3 separate regions of the Homo sapiens genome follow, and regions 1 and 3 are each linked to region 2. Evidence: promoter capture Hi-C in 16 types of primary human blood cells and fetal thymus (Javierre and others, 2016). All regions are on one chromosome and are shown on one strand. Each heading gives the region's core, a stretch centred on a gene start or on the middle of the fragment in contact. The rest is flanking DNA. Distances are from core to core; before and after follow the strand shown.

Region 1 (2,700 bases), core at 156-2,655, 370 kb after region 2:
TGGATGGTGGATGATGGGCCCTCTTGGGGGTAACCCCACATGTACCCCTTCCCCACCCTGCATCCGGGCCTCTCGCACATCTTAGAGGAGGGTAGACATCCCCTAAGACGTGCTCTAGGTGGAGGCTTCTGAGTCTGGGAGCACCTGAGCCTGAATCCTCTTCAGTTACTGCTCGTAGCCCAGGAAGCCGTGGCATCCTGGGGATGTGGTGGGAGGAGTGGGGAGACCTGGCGAGACCCACCCAGGGCCTGCAGGGCTGGATAGAGGGACATCTCTCATGAGCCTCCAGGGTCAGGATTGAGACCCTGGGGTACTCACCTGACAGAAGGGGACCAGGGGTCCTTCCAGAATGTGGGCAGATGCGCCACTGAATTTCCTTCTTGCTGAGCGGCCCCCACAGGCTCTTCGGTGGGGGTGGGGGCCAAAGGCCACAGGTGCACTCTGGGAAATCTGGGAGGGCACAGAGGAGGAAAGGAAGCAGCCCCTCCCCCTCATTGAGCCCCCACCTGGGAGAGGATGGAGTGAAGGAGAAGCAGGCTCCCGGGCCTCTGACTGTCCTCACTTTGTTTCCAGCCAGCCCCCTGGTTCTCTGGGCCTCTATTTATTTCCTCATCAGTAAAAGGAGGCCATAATCCTTGTCCTGGCTTCCTCTTGGAGTTTCGTAAGAGTTCAATGAACCCAAGGACGTGAAAGGTGTTATGCAAATGAGAGACATTATGAGTTATCTATTGGGAGGCTTGGATCCTGAGCTTGGCTCTGTCTCCAGGAAAGAGGCCTCAAGTTTCCTTCTGCAGCAGCGCAGCATACGGGGTGCACAGTGATCCACCCAAACGGCAGCTATGCTGCCGGGGCTGGTGAGACGTGGTCATTCACAAGGCAGCTCGCTGTGCTGCACAGCAGGTAAGCTTGCCTGCTGGTTCCCTGTTTCTAGAGGCAGCTGGCACCTTTGTGTGGAAGATCCCTGGGACCCAGAAGGGTGCCTTCTGCTTCCTTTCAGCCTGGGGCACACAGTCAGCCTGTAGAGTAGAAGTCGGGTGGGAGGAACCCTCAAACTCCAAGGCTCTGGGATAGATGACCAACTATGGCCACAGCTCCCTCCTGCTCGGCATGTCCTTGGCAATGTGACTTTGCCTCTTTCCCAAAAGGTGGAAACTAATTTCCCACCCTTTGAATCTGGGCTGGCCTCGTGACCTGGACTCTGGCCGATAGACTGCAGTGGAAATGATGTTATCCAAGTTCAAGGGGCTAGGCCTCCGGAGACCTTGCAGCTTCTACCTTTGCCCTCGTAGGTTGCTGCCCGGAGTCGCCATGAAGGAATGTGATGCAGCCTATTGGAGGAGAACCAAACCCCACCACCACCCCAGAAAGCCATACCAGCTGCCGACATGTACATGGGCTCATCGGGGGTTTTCCAGGCCCACTGATGTTCCAGCTGAGCACAGCTGCCGGGTAAGCCCAGGAGAAATCAGCTAGGAACCCCAGCCCACCCACAGGACCCTAAGAGAGGATGCGTCATTGGTCTCTGTTTTGTGCTGGCTGGTTATAGAGCATAGGCTAACCGAAGGCAGAGAAGGGAAGGGACTTACCCGAGGTCCCACAGAGAGCAGAGACCAAGCCTGTCTTGGTTAAGTCTGTGACCAGGTTTCCTGGCCCCTGTGCCCTTCCCATCAGTGTCCTGCCGCCAGCTCTACCAGCGGTGTGTGGATCTGCATGTATGTAGGGAGGTGCGGATCGGGTGGGCCCTTCCCACTTCCACCTGAGTTAGGAAGGGTTGGCTGACGTCCACACAGGGCTGTCCTGCCCATCATTGCAGGCGGGAGGGATGGTTAATCCCATTCTGCAGAGGATGAAACTGAGGCCAAGAGCTGACAGTCACACAGCTACTAGGTAACAAAGCTCTGACATCAAAGCTTTTGGTTCTTTGATGCCAACTCCAGATCCTTCTATTGACTCGCCGGAAGGAGAATGGCAGGTGGTAAAGTTCCCTCCAAGGGTCAGTCACTCAGAAAGGGCCACATACACAGGCACACACATAACACACAGGCACACACATGACACACAGGCACACACACGACACACACAGGCACAATTACATGTGTGCTTGCTCACTCTCTTTCTCTCCTTCTCACCCCTCCATCTTCAACCAGCCTACCCCTAATGGACCATGTACTTTATTAAAAATATATAGTTACGGCTGGGTGCGGTGACTCACACTTGTAATCCCAGCACTTTGGGAGGCCAAGGTGGGTGGATCACCTGAGGTCAGGAGTTCGAGACCAGCCTGGCCAACATGGTGAAACCCCATCTTTACTAAAAATACAAAACTTAGCTGAGTATGGTGGCTCATGCCTGTAATCTCAGCTACTCAGGAGGCTGAGGCAGGAGAATCGCTCGAACCTGGGAAGCGGAGGTTGCAGTGAGCCGAGATTGCTCCATTGCACTCCAGCATGGGCAACAAGAGCAAAACTCCGTCTCAAGAAAAAAAAATAATAATAAAAAATAAAAAAAAAATATATATATATATATATATATATGGTTACAAACTCTGTTGTCAATCTGGGCTGGGCCCGGGGCTGGAGGGACTGCAGGGAGGGAGGGATGGTCCCTCATCCCACCCCTCAGAGTCCCTCCTCTGCACCCAAACCCAACACCATCCAAGGGCCAAGGTGGCTGGCGTTGAGGGCCTCAAGGGGCCAGCCA
Region 2 (2,700 bases), core at 178-2,677:
TATTTTCAAGCGATTCTCCTGCCTCAGGCTCCCAAATAGCTGGAATTACAGGTGTGCGCCACCGCACCTGGCCTTAGACTGCTGCTTTTTGAAACCAAAATTCTGGCCTGGAAACAGAGCTTGGTTTTCCCAGCCCCAGCCCTGCCGCTATGATACCAGAGGAAGAGGCTTCCCAGGGCCTCCGTTTCCTTGCCTGCACAATGTGGCTGGCAAGATTTGGTCTTCTCTCACAGGGTGGTGGTGAGCTTTCAAATCCTGTGAAAGTGATCTCACAGGAGAGCAGTGGACACGTGGGAAGGCTGTTATTGTCACGGCATTCTGCACATCTGTCCGGACTCAATTAGCCACCTAAGGAGAGAGTAGGGCGGGGCTTCCACCGGCCGTGGGATATGTGGATAATCATCCTTCTGTATCTTTCTTCCATGGCTCCTGGGGCAGCTGGGGAAGCAAGCTGGATGGGCCTGGCCCCATGCTGCCGGATGAGGTGGATGCCTGGCTGTGGCTCTGGGAGAGCCAACCTCCCCCAGGGAACCCACTTTACACAATAGCAGTGGCAGCAGAGGCTGGCGAGGAGACAAGATTCGGACTCTGGGGAGCACTGATAGCATTTCCCGAGCCTCAGGTACATGCGGACCGTGACCCTCCCTGGGACCCCAGGGGGGCTGCTCCTCAGGACTAAGGAAGGAGGAGGGGGTGTGAGAAACCTTTCACCATATACCATAGAAAGCATTTACCTCAATGGCCTTGGTTTACATATGGGGAAACTGAGGCACATAAAGGGAAGGGAGCATGTCCAGTCTGTCCTTAATAGCAAGACCCACTGAATACACCTCTCCTGGCTCTCTGTTTAGTGTTTGGACGTTCAAAGATCCCTAGACTAGGCGGCGGGAGTTTCAGGGCCACGATCCAGATCTTACACCAACTGTGTGTGGCCCCGCACAAAATCACTCCCCGCTCTTTGGCACTTAAGTTGGCGAAACTGGGATGGGCTGGGACCTCAAAGGGCCATTCTAGTAGGGGAGTCACAGGCCCAGGTGGTGAAGGGGTGAAAGGGCATGATGTCTTGGGGTTTATAGTCCACTGAGCCTCGCCGGAGGTAACCCCGGCTCAGGGATGCTTTCGTTGCCATGGCAACCGCCGGGCCGGCGCGGGCCCCTGAGTGCAGCTGAGGAAGCTGGGACAAACCCTGCCCTTCCCAAGATGGCGGCGGCGGCAGGGCAAAGGGCGGGGTTAGACGCTGTCAGCCTGTCCAGACCGTTCCTCTGTTTTCGCTTGTTCCTACTAACAGCGAGCTTCCGCCAATACTTGTTCTCGTTCTTGGTTCCGAGCGTCCCGGGAGCCGGGAAGGGAAGGATTGTCTGCAGGGATTGGAGCAAATATCCAGTGGGGGGAAAGCCGGGACTTCCGCGTCTTGCCGGAAGTGACGTGACAATCGCGGCCACCGCCAGGTGGAACGGCAGGTGGGTTCAGGTACCAGCCTGGCCGGGACCCGGCTGTGGGACCAACGCTTCCGGTGAGCGACAGAGGCAGCTCCCCAGGGCCTGGAGACCCGTGGGGCGGACTCTGGGATCTGAGCCTATCGCCCTGGCCTGGAGCCCCCCTTTGTACCTAGTAAGAATCACCTACCCAGCCCCCCACCCGGAGACTGTCCCATCCCACTCCAGAGGGAAGAGGAGGGCACTGCTGTCCCGTATGAGGTGGTGGAGGGAGGGGTGGCGTTGGCATTTAGGCACTTGGGTTCCTTAAATCCTATGCTCCTTTCTCTCCCGGATCCAGTTCCCCATTCCCCTACCGAGCTGGGCAGTTAGCCAGCCCACTCCAACTCTCGGAACCATGTTTGCAGACTTGGATTATGACATCGAAGAGGATAAACTGTGAGTATTTTATTCCCCCAAGTTCCAGCAGTATAGGAGCCCCAAGTTCCTCATTTCCCTGGACTTCCCAGTCCCACAGACCCTTGCTTCTCAGCGGTGGATCAGTTGTTGTACTGAAGCAGCAATGGACCCTGCTCTCCCAGGAGCTCACTATTTGTAGGGGGCTGTGGACAGTTAAAGGGATAATCACAGCTCAGTGCCATAAGGGCACTATTAGCATGACTTGGTGACAAGAAGAGCAAAGCAGATGGAGCAGTGCTTCTGCTGGGATGGTCAAGGAAAGCTTCATGGAGGACGTAGCAATTGAACCAGGTTTTGAAGGTTGAATAGGAATATTGTAGACACCCTTCCTTCCCAACATAGGTTGTTAGTAGGACAGATTTTCCCATTAGAATATATCCTCTTTCAGATCAAGGAGTGGGTGCAATGCCTTTCTCTATGCTCAGCACTTAGTAAGGGACTTGACGTCAGTAGGTTGTTAGCGAATGTTTTTTGAATGAATAAGTGAATCAGCGTGAGTACTTATCATAAAACACCAGTCAATGCTAATTTATAGTGGAAACCGAGAGGTAATCGAGCAGTTGAGAGGTGGGAGGTGGACAGTTTAATAGAGGAAGACTCCCTGGAGTAGGTGGCCATCATACTACATAGATGCCTGATAAGGTGACAAGGACAGAACCTGGCTCAAATCTCAGAGATCGAATAAATGAAAGGGAAGGGGGACCTATTTTTATGGAGTGCCTGCTATGGACTGGGTTGCTGTTAGTGCCCTCCATGCATGGTTAGAAGAACTCTGATAAGGGTGCTCATCCACATTTTATGGATG
Region 3 (2,700 bases), core at 1-2,500, 350 kb after region 2:
ATGTGGGGGCAAGAAAAGGAAGACTCCAAGGGTTTGCTCAGGACTCTGGCCCAGGAAATGGGGGACTGTGGGACTGGAAGGGGCCTGGTGGGGAGCAGCAGGGGGTGCTGAGCTTGTTTGGCACCCTCTGAGCTGGAGAAGTGTGTGGAGGCTGGGAGAGGGGCCCAGAGGGACTGGAGGTATAGACAAGACATGCTCCCAGCTTCCCTGGGTCGCAGGCCAGGCACTATTTGATAGATGAGATCATCGAGTTCCAGGGAGGAAGGAGAGCGGGCCATGTCACCAAGGTCACCCAGTGATGAGCATCCCTGCCGACAGGAGTCCAGCTATCCCAGTCCCTCCACAGTCCCTGGGACTTTGCTGCTGAGGGGCTCGGGCTCTCCGGGCGGGAGTCCCAAAGACAGGAACAGGGCAGACTTAGAGCCCACATGGAGGCTGATTCTTTGGGCGGCCTTGGGCAAGTCTCTTCACCTTTCTGAGGCTCAGTTGCCGCACCTGTGGGTGTGAAATGCCTCCTTCCATAAGGGTTGGAAGGATTAAACTAGAGTTTATTTTTATTTTTTATTTATTTATTTATTTTAATGTCATAGCGCTGGACCCAGCAGCAGGTATTTAGTAAGCCCGGCGGGTGGTGAGCATGTCCTCCCCTTCCCCTTCTGGCTGAAGCAGTTAGGAAGGCTGCCTGGAGGAGGCAGGCCTTGAAGGTAAGGGCTGATTCAGAGAGACTCAGAATGAGCACAGGAGAGACTGCCGGGCTCCCCCTGGCCCCGGGGCCCCTGAACACAGGCCAAGGGCTGTGGACCTTCTGTTGTCACAGCTGCCCATCCAGGCCCCACAGCACTGGAACCGTAGCCAGAGAGAGCTCTGCCTGAGAATGGGACAAGAAAACAAGCCCAGCCGGGCGCGGTGGCTCGAGCCTGTAATCCCAGCACTTTGGGAGGCCGAGGTGGGCAGATCACGAGGTCAAGAGATCAAGACCATCCTGGCCAACATGGTGAAACCACATCTCTACTAAAAATACAAAAATTAGCTGGGTGTGGTGGTGCTTGCCTATAGTCCCAGCTACTCGGGAAGCTGAGGCAGGAGAATCGCTTGAACCTGGGAGGCGGAGGTTGCAGTGAGCTGAGATCATGCCACTGCACTCCAGCCTGGGTGAAAAAAAGAAAAGAAAAGAAGGAAGGAAGGAAAGAAAGAGAGAAGAAAGAAAAGAAGGAAGGAAGGAAGGAAGAAAGGAAGGAAAGAAAAAAAAAGAAAAGAAAAGAAAAAAGAAAAGAGAGAGAAGCCCTGATTGCCACCAGCAGCTCATACCGATTGGCCCCAAGCCTGGCCAGCGAATGTTCAAAAAGCCTCCCTGACCCCATTGCATCTGCTCTAGGCAAAGTCTTGTTTTCTGGAAGGAAAGCAGCATTTATTAAAGACACTGCTCTGCTCTCACGCTTGCATGAGCCTCTTGCCCATGACGTTGCTGCCCTGAGATGCAAGTACCATTACTACCCTCAGGGAAGGAGAGGTCTTGCCGAACCCAGCATCTTGACTGCAGAGCTGGGGCTCTAACCACTGGGCTGCTGCCTTTTGTAAATGAATGGCTCCCCATCTCCTGCGAGCTCCTGAGGGCAGAGCGGAGTCTCCCCTGTGCCTGGCATGGGCCCTGCATTCAGCAGCCTCCTCAGGAATTTTGAGTAAGTGAATAAAGACATGTAAGGGTGACAGTTCAGTTTCAGAGTGACCCAGAGGCATCGCCCTAAGATGCAAAGATGCAGTGGATCTGAACAGTTGGAGGCGGAATCACCTGGGAATGTATAGAGTAGCTTCCAGAAGGACACACAAGGGACCAGGCACGGTGGCTCATACCTGTAATCCCAGCATTTTGGGAGGCCAAGGCGGGCAGATCACCTGAGGTCAGGAGTTGGAGACCATCCTGGCCAACATGGCGAAAACCGTCTCTACTAAAAATACAAAAAATAGCCGGGCATGGTGGTGCACGCCTGTTAGCCCATTTACTCAGGAGGCTGAGGCAGGAGAATTGTTTGAACCTGGGAGGCGGAGGCTGCAGAGAGCCAAGATCACGCCACTGCACTCCAGCCTGAGCAACAGAGTGAGACTCTGTCTCAAAAAAAAAAAAAAAAAAAGGACACACAAGGAATTGGCACCGGGGGTTGTGTCTGGGAATGGGGGTGGGAGGGAGACATACTTTTCTGCTTGAATGTCTGTGTTACATATTATAATGTGGTATCATTATAATGCGTCACCACGCGCAGGTCCATGAATGAATGCGGAAGTCAGTCGTCACCCGGGAGCTCCCTGGGCATGTGGACTCCTGGGCTGCAGCCCCAAAGGGAGGAAGCAGCAGGGCTATGGGTGGCAGGGGCCAGGATGAGCTCCTGGGTGATTCTGTCACAGGTGGCCCTGGACCACACTTAGGAACAAAATCGCCAGCTGGGTCCTCTTCCCACCGGCCACCCAGCCAGGCTCATTTGCATGATCTTTTGCATATATTTGCATGACTTCCCTGGTTCCAAATAAAGCCTGTTAGTCCTTATCCTCACTTCTGCTGGGTGCTGAGCAAAGCTTCTTCCCTCCCGCCCTCCCCTAGCACTGCCCCCGCCCAGACCTGGCTGGCCTGGACTAACCCCGTCCTTCTCACCTCCTAGCCCCAGTCAAATATGTCATCCTTTGACCCCATCTCCACTTTCTCCTAGT

The links. Contacts are between HindIII fragments. The CHiCAGO score rates a contact against its expected background, and 5 or more counts as called.
Region 1: a fragment that was not itself captured here is called in contact with the fragment with the promoter of PICK1 in region 2 in 1 of 17 cell types (endothelial precursors); the score reaches 6.0 in endothelial precursors.
Region 3: a fragment that was not itself captured here is called in contact with the fragment with the promoter of PICK1 in region 2 in 3 of 17 cell types (endothelial precursors, M0 macrophages and total B cells); the score reaches 5.8 in endothelial precursors.

Annotation. Positions count from the first base shown.
Region 1 is chr22:38,423,524-38,426,223 of GRCh38, forward strand. It overlaps LOC105373030 (a long non-coding RNA gene), which reads right to left and starts at 695. Exons shown (of 5, transcript XR_938254.4): 1 at 319-695. LOC101927183 (a long non-coding RNA gene) reads left to right here and starts at 755. Exons shown (of 3, transcript XR_938252.3): 1 at 755-900; 2 at 1,290-1,449. The HindIII fragment of the contact is 1,005 bases long and covers 904-1,908 here.
Region 2 is chr22:38,055,977-38,058,676 of GRCh38, forward strand. PICK1 (protein interacting with PRKCA 1) reads left to right here and starts at 1,428. Exons shown (of 13, transcript NM_012407.4): 1 at 1,428-1,611; 2 at 1,777-1,874. The coding sequence starts at 1,834. RefSeq lists enhancers at 880-1,505, 1,202-1,261, 1,506-2,129. The HindIII fragment of the contact is 5,557 bases long and covers 1-2,155 here.
Region 3 is chr22:38,401,641-38,404,340 of GRCh38, forward strand. No RefSeq gene overlaps it. Among named protein-coding and RNA genes, the nearest start is that of TPTEP2-CSNK1E, 4.1 kb to the left of the region's middle. RefSeq lists enhancers at 1,872-2,373, 2,374-2,700 and a cis regulatory region at 2,500-2,686. The HindIII fragment of the contact is 2,632 bases long and covers 1-2,566 here.